Regions from separate parts of the Homo sapiens genome. Here regions 1, 2 and 3 are each linked to region 4. The links are contacts of gene promoters, found by promoter capture Hi-C in blood cells and fetal thymus (Javierre and others, 2016). All regions are on one chromosome and are shown on one strand. Each heading gives the region's core, a stretch centred on a gene start or on the middle of the fragment in contact. The rest is flanking DNA. Distances are from core to core; before and after follow the strand shown.

Region 1 (2,948 bases), core at 117-2,616, 340 kb after region 4:
CTAGTTGATGATGTGGTATGTAGACGTTTCTCCCCACGTGAAGTTCTTTGCATAAATAAATGGTGACCAGCTGTTAGTCTTCCTATTAGCATGAACATCCATCACAGCTTGTTTCAAATCTAAGTCTGGGAGGGAGAAGCTTAGACTCCCATGAAAGGCAAATGTTACAATGGTAATCCAGCCCAGTCTGGCACACATCTGCTTAGAGAAACTCGCAAACTGGAAATGTTGGCTGGGATCTATATGGGGGGTTGGGCATGGGGTCTGATGTTCTCTGTAAGTGTCCCCACCCAGGGAGCTGCATTTTTGTCAGCAGGGAAGACGTGATGAGATCAGGCTCCCATTGGGGCCTGTCAACATGGTGCCGATGGCTGCTGTACTCTCCAGGGTGCCCTTCCCTATCTCCCACCAGTGACCCTGGCCCACAGCAGACCTTGAGAAGGTACAGGTAGGCTGGGAAGGGAAAGGTCTCCTCCCTTAGGGCTCAGACCCTGGCCTGCATGTTGTGGTCATGGACCACAGGCTGTTTGAGATGCCCTCTTCAGGGGTAGCTAGTGATAGGGCAGAATGTCACCATCGGTCCTATGGTGAGTTTTCTGGTGCCATTCTCTGTCTGTCCCACCAGTCTCTGAGAGGGAGGCAGGAGCCTGCCCTGCCTGCCCCATCCACACCTCCCCAACCAGGGAACCCCATCACTCCCTCTATTCATTGTGGATGATGGTAATTATTTTTAATATCTCTCCCTGGGAACTCAGTCATTCACCCACCCATTCTACAAACATTTATTTTGTACCTGTAGCGTACCAGGTACTAGGAATACATGGGTGAGCAGGACAGACATGGTGCCCATTTTACTGGAGCTGTTTCATTAGAGTGGGAAGGATAGTCAGATAAAGCACAAAGAGACTAAAAGACAATGGCAAGTTGTGAAGAGTGCTATTAAACAAATGGGATAGAGGGACCTAGTCTGGATACAGTGGCTTCTCTTGGGAGGTAACTCTTGAGCTGAGGCGTAAAGACTGGGATGGAACCCAGTAAGTGAGGAGCAGTGCAGATGAGGGACTAGCATGCTGCAGAGGCTCTGGGGTAGGGGCAGAGCTTGGTTTCCTTGTGGAATTAAAAACCATCAGTGTGGCTAGAGTGTGGTGAGTGAGGGCCAGCTAAGAGCAGCTCCTGGTGGAATTGCAGGCCGTGTGCCAGTCTTGTGGTTGTAGGAGCTTTGCAGGGGCCGATAAGGCCAGCAGGGTTTTATGGAGTTTGGGGGTGGGTGTACCGTGAGTGAATCGCTTTATGTGCATTGGTATAAAAGCATTTTTTGGGGGCCTAGTGCTTGCCAGACAGGGTGTTGAGGCAGATTAAATTTAGCTTGAATTTCCTCTTGAAAGCAAAGAGCCCACAGAGGTCTTTAATTTGGGATGACATGATGAGGCATGGAGGCAGAGCAGCAGTGGTCCTGGTTTCTGTGAGTTCTCTGCAAAATGGTTTCCCAGATACCGACACACTCTTCTCTCTCCCTGTCAGCCTGGGGCTCCGGCTTATATGAGTGCTTGCTGCGGATGTGACCAGTGGTCTGCACACAGTAGGTGCACAGTGCACTGGGACTCCGTGCAGTGCGAGCTAAGGAGACCCTGTCCTTGGGAGGAGGCCTCAGCCCAAATTGCAGATGGGGAAGGGGAAAACAGCACTTCCTCAAGCTATAGAGCATTTGGGTGCTTACTGCTTCCCCTGTCTGCACATGGAGAAACTGAGACCTGGAGAGAAAGTCACAAAGTTCATGACTAGCTGATAATTGTGTTTTCCATTTTGTGTTAGAAAAGTACTAAAGAAATCGATAGCTCAAATAGCTACTGTTAGTGCTGTTAAGATGCCTGGGCATTCCTAAGAGTACCCAGCAGCTGTGTCCTGGAGAACCCTCTGTGTATCCAGTGCCCTTTATTCCTAAGAAATGAAGTCATCTCTGGCCTGAGAGGCTCTGCATCCTTATATTTTAGGAAGGATGATTTCTATTCTTAGTCTTCTCGCTTTCCCTGCAGAGTGATAGAGTGTTTACAACTATTACCCACACTCGCCTCTGTTTAGCCCTGTAAAGAACATCCTCAGCACTTACTCCGCATTAGGATTTGAGCTTTAAATGGAAGACAGCAGGGTGTGGTGGGAAGGCTGTGGCCCCAGCAGTCACATTGCCTGGGTTCTAGCTGTTTGAATTTGGAGAAGTGACTTGACTTTTCTGAGCCTCCTGTCTCCAGGGAGACAGGAGGGGCAGATGGCGATTCTTGCAGTTGTGACTGTAGCTTGCGTGGCAGATGCCAGTTCTTAATCACCTTCCACACACAGCTTAGTGGTTCTCCAACCTACAGTGTACGTGAGAATCACCCAGAGGGCTTGTGAAGCAGGGATTGCTGAGACCCGCCCCGAGAGGTTCTGATTGAGTAGGTCTAAGGTGAAAAGTTTGCATTTTTACCAAGTTCCCAGGTGATGCTGATGCTGCTGGTCCTGAACTACAACTTTGTGCAGGGCTGCACACACTCACTGAATTCATCTCTGCAGCCCCTTAGTGTTGTATTGTTATTTTCCCTTTGTGGAGGAGGAAATGAAAGCTTAGAGAATTAGGTAACTTGCCCAGGGTCGCACAGCTGCTAGGTGGTGAAGCTGGAATCCCAGTCCAGGTCTGTGCTGTCCAAAGCCATTGCCTTCACCTCTAGCTCTACCATGGTGCTACCTGGCGGGATGAGGTGCTCAGTGAAGGCTGGCTGCAGTTCCTTTGCCTCTCTAGACCAACAACAGGCTTGGGCCTTGATCCAAGATTACAGTTGACACCAAATGGTTTTCATTATTGTTTTGTGATAAGGCAGACCAAATAATACTCAGAAAACTTAGATGAGAAAATCCAGGGTTGAAAGGATGGTAATTGGAGAGATGCCGATTCACTAGTCATAGGCCCTCAAAGC
Region 2 (3,044 bases), core at 232-2,731, 500 kb before region 4:
TTGAAGAAAGAGGTACAAGGAAAGTCAGAAAAGTTAACTCTGCTTCCATGGAATCAGGGGCAAGGCTGAGGCAATGTTAAGGTCCTCATTCCACCCTCCCTTTACCTGTTGAACTGAACAGTTCCCCAAATGGATACAAAAGTACTCAGAGTCCTTAGTATAACAAAGTCCTGAAGGTAGGAATTGGAAGCAATAGAGGGAAGGACGGTGACCACAGAAAATATTCAAGGTCTTTGGGAGGTCAACACCTCTGAACCCCCTGGTGGTGGGGGGCCCTTCTGGCCCATTTGCACCTTTCTTGCTAGTGTAGAAAACCTGAAGTTATCTCAGGCTAGATATATAACCCTCACTCATGTCTGCCGGAGCTCTCCCCCAGAATATGAATCATATTTGTAGGTTTCTTTGACAACCAACCACTCATTGATATGCTTGGAAGACTGCACCCCCACATTCCTTAAAAATACAATGGTACTCCCCCACCATAGGCAAGTCCCCGGACTCTGACACATATCTTCAATTGAAAGCAGACCCAGAAAGGAAAAACTGCATAATACACCATCCTTTAATATTTGCCCAGAATTTCCAATACTAGAAACCCCACTGCAAAGCAGAAAGACTATCTGGTAGCTTCAAGGAACCATTTCAGGAGATTGTTGTGTGGGCCTCAGTATTCAAGGCTGCCTTAGAAGATCGTGCGATCCTCTCACTCTTCTTGCCCCAAGTACCAGAGTTAATAAGCCACTGAACCAACCAGAGGGGAATTATTTTTGGTCCCGGTTTAAAGAAAACAAAACAAGCTGTTGATTCTGCCATGACCTCTTGGGTAATGTTGTCTCTATACCTGTGATAAACAGAAAACAACTAATAAAGGTTTATCCCGCCCTCACCCTCTTAAACCCGCTTCACAGACCTGGCTGAAACTCACATCCAGGCGAGGCGCTCACGTGACCCGTTCTAAACGCGTCATAGGGACACGTGGTTCTAGATACTTCTCCCCCTCCCACTCAGGGGTGGATTGTTGACAAGGCCGCGGGCAGTCACGTGATCTTACATCATCCCACCTCCTTTCCCTGAAATCTCTGGCCCGGATGCGTCCCTCTTTCTCCACCCCGCCGAGCCTAAACTAGTGACGGGGAGGGAGACGGGATAGTGTTTCTGTTTCGTGGTCTTTGAATCCACAACCTCTAGTCTGAACACAGAGAACACAAATTTGTCTATTACTTCAGGAAGCCCAGGGGGAACCGCGCCCCGCTGAAGGGCTCGGGGAAGGCGCGCTCCCGCGTCCCGCCCCCTCCTCCCCCAGCACTCACACTGTGGTAGCGGCGGAGGGCGGAGGGATCCGGAGGCGGCGGAGGGAGACGTCATTGCAGGGTTGTTTGTCAGTCTCGGCGGCGGCGGCGGCGGCGGCGGCGGCGGCGATCCACAGTGATTCGGCCGCCGCGCCGGGGGGTGGGGGGGCTGCGCGGGACTTTTTTTTTTTCAGACTGACCGCGGGGCAGCTGCGGAGCATGTCGACCCCGGCCCGGAGGAGGCTCATGCGGGATTTCAAGCGGTAAGGGCCTTCACCTTCGCCTAGATGACGGCCCCTCAAAGCTGCGGGGCTGCAGGGCGTGGATCCCAGACACCTTCCCCTTTGTGACCCTCAGAGGGCCGGCTGTGGGCCCAGCGGGACTGGCGGAAGCCGGGTCCTAGCCTCGGCCCTACTCCCATAAGCTTTGCCGCTCGTTCTGGCGCCCGAAGAAATTTTGATACTGCTTCCCCTCCCCACAAAAAGTAAAACGGTGTCGATCGACTGGTCTAGGGTTCCCTGCTGCCCATTTCGGCCAGCTGCCCGGCGTCTCGCCCAGGCGATCAGACATTATCCGCCCGCCCCTGCACCCTGCGGCGCCCCCTTCTTGTCCCCTCAAAGTGAGCTCCTGCGGGAGCTTGTTCCTCTCCGGCAGCACCAGTCAGCTTTGTTTCACGGCCCCGCCGTCTTCTCCGAGGAGCCGTGTTGGGGCGAACCCCTCTCCCGACTCCTGCCAATCCTTTCCATTTGTGCCCTGAGGGTGGGGTCCAGTGCGTGAGGCCCGGAGGTTAACCCATCCCCCGAAACCCGACTCTGTCCCCGCCCGCCTGAAAGGACCTTGGGAACTGACTTAGAGATCTGGGACCTTAGAGCTGGCCACCCCGGCTGCCAGTGCTTTCTGGAACTCAGCTCTGGCTGGTGAAGAAAGCCCCTATCTATAGCCTCCCGAGTCTGGAAAAATGCCTTCCCTTAGACTGGCGCTAATCTGATACTCCCTGGGCCTCCTTTGGTAAATAAAATAGGGTTTTGTTAGGAGGTATTGGGGTTGTGAGATAGAAAATGATTATTCCGTTGTTTACCTTTTATTGGATACTTAGAGACATAGAAAAAATAAGTGAGAAAACATCATTTTGATACTCTGCACATTTTTCTTAACATTTTTTCTGGGGACACCTGCCCTAATTGAACAAAATATCTAGCATAAAAACTTAGATTTGTCGCTCAGGAAGTCACCTCTCAGCTATTATAAAGCCTATGTGAGGCACTTGGATTTGGCCAACTTATTTAATTCATTCGTAGCTTCTCTTAGCCATTTAAAGGTAGGCGTCAAGCAGTGCAGTTCTTCTAAGGCTTCTGTTCGTGGTGGCCTAATTTGCTTGAGATTGACTAAAAACCATTTTTTTAATGTGGACTAGTTGCAAATTATGATGCCCCATGAAAAACAACTGCATATGTATTTGTGTGTGTATATAATGTAGCATTTTTAATTGAGGTTACAGTCTCTGAAAGGAGATGCCCTTTTTGGTGCAAAAGTCATCTTTCTAAAGCTTGAAATCAGCGTATTTGATTAGCACTCATGACAAATTCAGATAGTAAACTAGTTCATGTCATTGTCGCCCTGGCTCCTTACTGTAATGCTCTGCTTAATTCTGAGTTGAATGCATGGCACCTTTTGTAGTTTCCAGAGATCTGCAGGTTACAAGAATTTGACTATGACGAATGTTGGAAAGCCTTGTGTTGAGTCTCCTGATCTGAG
Region 3 (3,413 bases), core at 329-2,828, 470 kb before region 4:
GGACGCTGAGGCAAGGGATCGCTTAAACTCGCGAGGCAGAGGTTGCAGTGAGCTGAACCATTGCACTCCAGCCTGGGCAACAAGAGCAAAACTCCATCTCAAAAAAAAAAAAAAAGGAAAATCAGAAAACCTCTTAGAAACAAAAAGGAAAGAATCTATCACAAGCAGTTAAAAAATAAAGGCTCGGCCAGGTGCAGTGGCTCACGCCTGTAATCCTAGCACTTTGGGAAGCTGGGCAGATCACTTGAGGCCAGGAGTTCAAGACCAGCCTGGACAACATGGCAAAACCCTTTCTCTACTAAAAATACAAAAATTAGCTGGGTATGGTGGCACCCGGCTGTAATCCCAGCTACTGGGGAGGCTGTGGCGCTAGAATCACTTGAGCCTGGGAGGCAGAGGTTGCAGTGAGCTGAGATCGTGCCACTGCACTCCAGCCTGGGTGACAAAGTGAGCCTCTATCTAAAAAATAAATTAAAAATAAAGGCTCACCTCATTCCCTGCCTACCTCTGCCCCTGCCCCTGCCCCATAAGGTATACTCCAGTAGCCAGAAACTATCTAGCTCCTCCCTGGCTGGGCCCCAAGAACCTTACTATAGAACACCCAAGGACTGCCCAGTATTTTTTTAAGTATTACATGAGAAGATCCAAAAAGCCACACACTCCCAATTCACACTGCTCCCTGGCTAAAAACAGTAGCCCCTTTTTAACAGCTGATTTTAGTCCTGGTGCGGTGGCTCACACCTGTAATCCCAGCACTTTGGGAGGCCGAGGCGGGCGGATCACGAGGTCAGGAGATCGAGACCATCCTGGCTAACACGGTGAAACCCCGTCTCTACTAAAAATACAAAAAAAAAAAAAAAAAAAAAATTGGCTGGGCGTGGTGGCAGGCGCCTGTAGTCCCAGCTACTCAGGAGGCTGAGGCAGGAGAATGGTGTGAACCTGGGAGGCAGAGCTTGCAGTGAGCCCAGATCGCACCACCTCACTCCAGCCTGGGCGACACAGGGAGACTCCCTCTCAAAAACAAACAAACAAACAAACAAAAACAAAAAAACAGCTGATTTTACTTACTGATTTTTTGTCAGGAGTACTGTGTTGAGGTAACAGCTGATTTTAAAACATAATAGCATCTCGAAAACCAACCTGAAGCTTTTCCCCAGGTTCAGATTAAAACTAAAAGAATACTTTTTTAAGAAAAACAAACCATCCTGAAAATCAAGTGGGGTGTACTATTTGGGACTGAAATACTTTATGAGCAACTGAGAATCTGATTAGTTCCTTGACACCCATATGGAAGAGGACCTCTATATGTGCCCCACCTCCCAAGACAAGACCTAAATGTGGAGGAATGGGCTTACCTATGTTTCTAAGGGCAGACCTAAAAAGGGGCCAGCAGCTTTTTACTCTACTGCTTCAGTCGATTTTATAAGTATTTTCTGAGTACCTTCTCTGGGGTATAAGTATACTAGGTTTGGGAGTTGTAAAGACTAAATAGAACTTTAGACACCATCTGTAAGGTCACAACTGCTTTAAAAGAGCCCTGGATAAAGTGCCAAAGGAACTTCAGAAGATAAGCGAGCAATTAATTCTGCTGCCTGAGCAGACAAATGTGAAACAAGCATGTTTTGGAGGTGATTCTGAAAAGTATTAATAGCTGGGATGCCCAGCTCCATATTCTGAGGTTCTTTCTGCCACATTCTGTAGCCCCAGCTCCAGTGTCCAGATTCAAGACTCTAGGCAAGACTCACTGTAAAAAGCCCATCGCCTGAGATCAGACCCCAAAGGGTAGAGAACAGCTATGCCATCGACATTGCTCCAGGCACGTTCTTATCAGCAAATCACAGAAGCCAAACAAGTCAGGTCGGCACTCACACCGGCACTCACACCTGGGGTAAGGATGAGTCTTACCAATGAGATTTTTTAACAAGTAGGAAACTTAAGTATTCTAGCCAACATCTTTTTAAACATCAAGCAAAAATCTCAAAACAATGTTCCTAAACAACCGGAAGAGGTTAAGCTTATGTGTTACCTCATCAACAATGCATAATTTACCACAGTGAGTTGTCAACTATTTATGAAAAGGCTTATACCAATTATGGGGAAATAAAAATGAAAGGGTATAGGTCTTTGGGGCAGTAAAGAGCATTCAAAAACAATATACTCTAATATAGTGTCATCAAGGCAGGGACTGTTAACTCTACACCATTTCATCACATGCACTTGGAAATCCTATTTACCTTTTTCATTAATTCACTTCTGGTAGTAAATTGTGGCAGGTCTTCCACTTCAATCCCATCGGCCATTTCCATCACCTTGTCTAAAAGGTCTTTATTGTAACTGCACAATAAAAAGTAGTAAGGTAAAAACCTTGGAACAATTGTCACTGTGGATTAATAAGAAACTGCAGGTTGCTCAACTATAAAATCAGCTCTCAGAGAACTGACCTGATACTGCAGGGCAAACCTATACATGTTCCCCACAAGGTTTTGAGATGGAGTCTTGCTCTGTCCCCCAGGTTGGAGTGCAGTGGTGTGATCTCGGCTCACTGCAACCTCCACCTCCCAGGTTCAAGCAATTCTCCTGCCTCAGCCTCCCGAGTAGCTGGGATTACAGGCGTGTGCCACCACGCCTGGCTAATTTTTTATTTTTAGTAGAGACAGGGTTTCACCATGTTGGCCAGGCTGGTCTCCAACTCCTGACCTCAAGTGATCCTCCTCCCAAAGTGCTAGGATTACTGGCGTGAGACACCGTGCCTGGCCCTGTGAACACTTCTTGCTTGTAGATACAGAAGTGGACTTCAGAAATACCAGTACAGCAGATGTTTCAAGATTTAGAAGAACAGAGGCACTGTACATCCAGCAACAGATATTCTCAGATACAGGATGAGGACCAAAATATTTTTATTTTTTAAATACATGGAATGTTAGTCTAACAAAAACATTATTTATTTCCCCAATTCTCTGACATTTGCCTAACCATGGAAAACCAGGATTTCCCAGGAGCACCTAGAAGGCAGGGAAAAGGGACGGGTGCCTCTGGCATTGCTTCCCTACGTACTGTTCTAATAAACCCCAATATGTGAAGCAAAACCAAGTGGCTTAGGCCTGCAGGGGCCAAATGACCAGAGTCAGGCAGCCATAATAGGTATAGAAACCAAGATCAAACCAAGTCACCCTATTTTCCTAACACAATTTCAGGAAAATCGAAGCTCTCTAATAGGGAGTCTCAAGATTTGCCACCTTCCTCATGGAGGGGTGAAAGGAATGCCTTATCAGGCACTTCAAAAGCGGGCCTTTGTCCTTTTGGTGCTGCAGCCAGGATGAAGTGGGCTTTGAGACCTTCACAAAAAGGCATCGGCCATTTTCATAAGAGGGAAAGCAGAGAGGTGAAGCTGGTTCCTACTTAGGACCCCGTGG
Region 4 (3,228 bases), core at 683-3,182:
CTGAGGTCAGGAGTTTGAGACCAGTCTGACCAACATGGTGAAACCCCATCTCTACTAAAAATATAAAATTAGTCGGGCGTGGTGGCGCATGCCTGTAATCCCAGCTACTTGGGAGGCTGAGATAGGAGAATTGCTTGAACCCGGGGAGGTGGAGATTGCAGTGAGCCAAGATCGCGCCATTGCACTCCAGCCTGGGCAACAAGAGCGAAACTCTTGTCTCAAAAAATAAAAAAATCAAACAAACACACATACAGGAAAGGAAAGGAGATAATAAAAAGGAAGGAGTAGTAACCACAGGGCATCCATGTTGGAGTATCCAGATCAGCTTCCTTTTCATTAGTCATAAATCCTTTTGGTGCTCTGTCCTGTTGGCTTTTCATGCACCTTCAAATCATGTATGGGGGTATGAGAAAGATAGTTTAAAAAGGAAAGGTTTGTTGTTCCACTGTTAGGGGTGAGGGAGGTACTTAGCGAAATGATGACTAGTAATAAGCTCTAGAACTGTGGGCTCTTTTATCCATGTCCATTGTTTCATATTCTTCTGGACCCACAAGATGGCACTTGAGGATCTACAACAGCAAAACCATACCAACGTATTTAGAATAAAAGAATCATCCACAGGGACAGATTAATGATGCATCTTTCTGGCCTAACAGTGTCTTTTTGATGGGCATAGAGATAAGGGGACTATGGCCACACCATCAGAATTGTATTATTCAATTAATAATGCCTACCACTTTGAAATGCTTCCTGTGCCCCAGGACACTGTGCTCATCACTTTACATCTCATTTCATCTATAAGACTCTATATAACGTCATTTCCACTTTACAGCTGAAGAAACTTAACTTTAAGTTACATAACCTGCTGACTGTGAACTATCACATGTGCTGAAGTTGGGATTCACCAAGCGGCCAAAAAGCACAGGTTCCCCTTACCATTGCTATGTTAACCAATAGACTGATGTATTTTAAATCAGTTTCTATTTTTTCAACCTCATAAGTTTGAAAAGCTGCACTCTGCACTGATTTAGCACTGACTGGTGGCTGCTTAAAGCTTGCCTTATTCCATTTTAGCAGGCCCCCCGGCAAAATACCCCAATTAGTGGTGTCATCCTCTCTATTCCAAGAATTTTCTCTTAAGACTCCCGCTCTGTGCGTTTGCTTGGGAATGCAGAGCCCTGTTCCTCATCTCCCCATCTATGCTTTCTTCATTCTAAGCCCTTTCCTATCTACTTTATGCTCGAGGTGGCTCCACCTCCACCATGAGCCAGAGCCAATGATGCTCACGGCCCCAACCATGATTAAAAAGAGATTGCCCTGCAAGGTAAATCAGTTAAAACCAACCTCTCCTGCCCTGAGTGGATAGGTAGGGTTAGGGTTGCCAGATGTCACGAAGTTACAGGATGCTCAGTTTTAAGGTATATCCCTTATACTATAAGGGTTATAGTAAAAAATATTCATTATGTGAAATTCAAATATAACTGGGTATCAGGTATTCTATGTGGCAACCCTAGGTAGGGGAGCACAGGTTAGGCAAGCGATTAGAAGATTTGCAGCCTCCAAAGTTTCTGCACCTCGATGGGACACTAGAACAGGAAGGCTCCTGGGCCTTTCTGGCTCTGGGAATGAAGCGTGGAAAACCCTCCTTAGGCGGGCGCAGTGCTTCAAGTAGCCAAGCTCTGACTTCCGAGGGAAGAAAGGAGGCCATGGGCCTCTGCCAGAGCCATGCTCTGCACTCTGGGGTCAGCAGAGTTCAAAACGACCTGCAACGTCTGGCGCTTAGCTCCTAAAGAGGTCTCCAGTCCAGCGCCGACGGCCAGCGGCTAGAGGCCGTCCGCCCGACTCCAAGATGGCGCCCGCCACAGCTGCCAGGTGTTAAGATGGCGGCGCGGGGCCGCGCCCGCGCTCCCAGGCTCTCCTCCCCCAGCCTTCCTCCGGCTGGCAGCACGACTCGCGTAGCCGTGCGCCGATTGCCTCTCGGCCTGGGCAATGGTCCCGGCTGCCGGTCGACGACCGCCCCGCGTCATGCGGCTCCTCGGCTGGTGGCAAGTATTGCTGTGGGTGCTGGGACTTCCCGTCCGCGGCGTGGAGGGTGAGTGTGGGCCGGGGGCGGTGCATGAGATGATGGGGCGAGCTGAGGTCCACCCGGGCGACGCTCTGGACCTGCGCGAAGGCCGGCGGTGCGCGACTCGCCCCTTCTTGGCGTCTCCCCGGGCGCGTCTCCCCGACTTCTCTCCCCGCGCACCGCCCGCTGGTGGCCCGCGAAAGGGGGCCGGTGGGCTGAGGGCCGGTGGACGGGAGCCCGGGGGTGGTTGGGCCGCGTTCAGGCCGCCCTCAGCCCGTGGCTGGTAGCCAGGAGGGACAGTGCGGTAAGCGCTGCTGAGGCATACCCTCTGGTGATAAGCAATTTATTATTAATAACATTATATCAAATACCGACATTGTTGTGGCCGTATTAGGAGCCAGGAACTGTGCATCGTGCTTTATTTACATCATTATCCCATTTAATGCTCCCACAAACCCTGTCAGATCGGTTCCGTTTAGTGTCTCCATTTCACAGATGAAGATGCTCAGGCCCCGCCTAAGTTTGCGCTTCTGATACGTGGCAGAAGCCTGTCTCTCTGACGCCAAAGCCCAGTCTGGAGTCCACGCTGCTGGACCACTGTCTTAAGGAGGCCAGTCTTGCTCAGCTCCCTGCATGAAAAACAGACGAGAAACACGGGAGACTCCCGGTAACCCCCAACTTGCCGGTAGGGAAGGCAGCCACTCTAGAGGCATGGCGAGGGTGGAGAGTGGAGGCCTTACTTTCATGCTCCTTCACCCCACTCCTCATAGTCCTGTTAAAGTCCAGACCCTCGGTCTCGCTTGTCATTTAGACCTTAACAGGAATAGGCAGGTCTTTCTTTTCCCTGGGGTGTCCTGGATGGAGGCAGGACAGCAGAGAGTTGTGGAGAAGGGTGAGTCATAGTAACACAATTACCATGAATGAAAGCGCTCACTGTGTACCAGATGCTGTGCTCAGTGCTTTACGAGCATCATCTTTTGGAATCTTTACTGTTTTGTTTTTGTTTTTTTAAGGGATGAGGGCTTGCTCTGTTGCCCAGGCGGGAGTGCAGTGGCCCATCATGGCTCCCTGCAGCCTTGAACTCCTGGGCTTAAGTGATCCTCCCACCTGTTTCCCAAAGTGCTGGGATTACAGATGTGAGCCACTGCTCCCGGTTTATGTAA

The links. Contacts are between HindIII fragments. The CHiCAGO score rates a contact against its expected background, and 5 or more counts as called.
Region 1: a fragment that was not itself captured here is called in contact with the fragment with the promoter of TXNDC15 in region 4 in 1 of 17 cell types (M2 macrophages); the score reaches 5.3 in M2 macrophages.
Region 2: a contact is called between the fragment with the promoter of UBE2B here and the fragment with the promoter of TXNDC15 in region 4, in 11 of 17 cell types (fetal thymus, non-activated CD4 T cells, naive B cells and 8 more). The highest score is 12.1, in fetal thymus.
Region 3: a contact is called between a fragment that was not itself captured here and the fragment with the promoter of TXNDC15 in region 4, in 1 of 17 cell types (fetal thymus). The highest score is 5.8, in fetal thymus.

Annotation. Positions count from the first base shown.
Region 1 is chr5:135,209,313-135,212,260 of GRCh38, forward strand. All of the region lies in intron 3 of PITX1-AS1 (PITX1 antisense RNA 1), which reads left to right. Among named protein-coding and RNA genes, the nearest start is that of LINC02900, 37 kb to the right of the region's middle. The HindIII fragment of the contact is 2,458 bases long and covers 138-2,595 here.
Region 2 is chr5:134,370,088-134,373,131 of GRCh38, forward strand. It overlaps UBE2B (ubiquitin conjugating enzyme E2 B), which reads left to right and starts at 1,482. Exons shown (of 6, transcript NM_003337.4): 1 at 1,482-1,552. The coding sequence starts at 1,509. It also overlaps a transcript of CDKL3 not described here. RefSeq lists enhancers at 601-1,196, 705-774, 1,715-1,814 and a silencer at 1,245-1,294. The HindIII fragment of the contact is 3,578 bases long and covers 1-1,711 here.
Region 3 is chr5:134,407,669-134,411,081 of GRCh38, forward strand. It overlaps CDKN2AIPNL (CDKN2A interacting protein N-terminal like), which reads right to left. Exons shown (of 3, transcript NM_080656.3): 2 at 2,235-2,334. Among named protein-coding and RNA genes, the nearest start is that of CDKN2AIPNL, 2.5 kb to the right of the region's middle. The HindIII fragment of the contact is 868 bases long and covers 1,145-2,012 here.
Region 4 is chr5:134,872,439-134,875,666 of GRCh38, forward strand. TXNDC15 (thioredoxin domain containing 15) reads left to right here and starts at 1,933. Exons shown (of 5, transcript NM_024715.4): 1 at 1,933-2,092. The coding sequence starts at 1,990. It overlaps LOC124901071 (a long non-coding RNA gene), which reads right to left and starts at 2,960. Exons shown (of 2, transcript XR_007058943.1): 1 at 2,806-2,960; 2 at 2,393-2,694. RefSeq lists enhancers at 1,609-1,658, 1,679-1,968, 1,900-2,605, 2,499-2,568 and a silencer at 2,209-2,318. The HindIII fragment of the contact is 3,704 bases long and covers 1,053-3,228 here.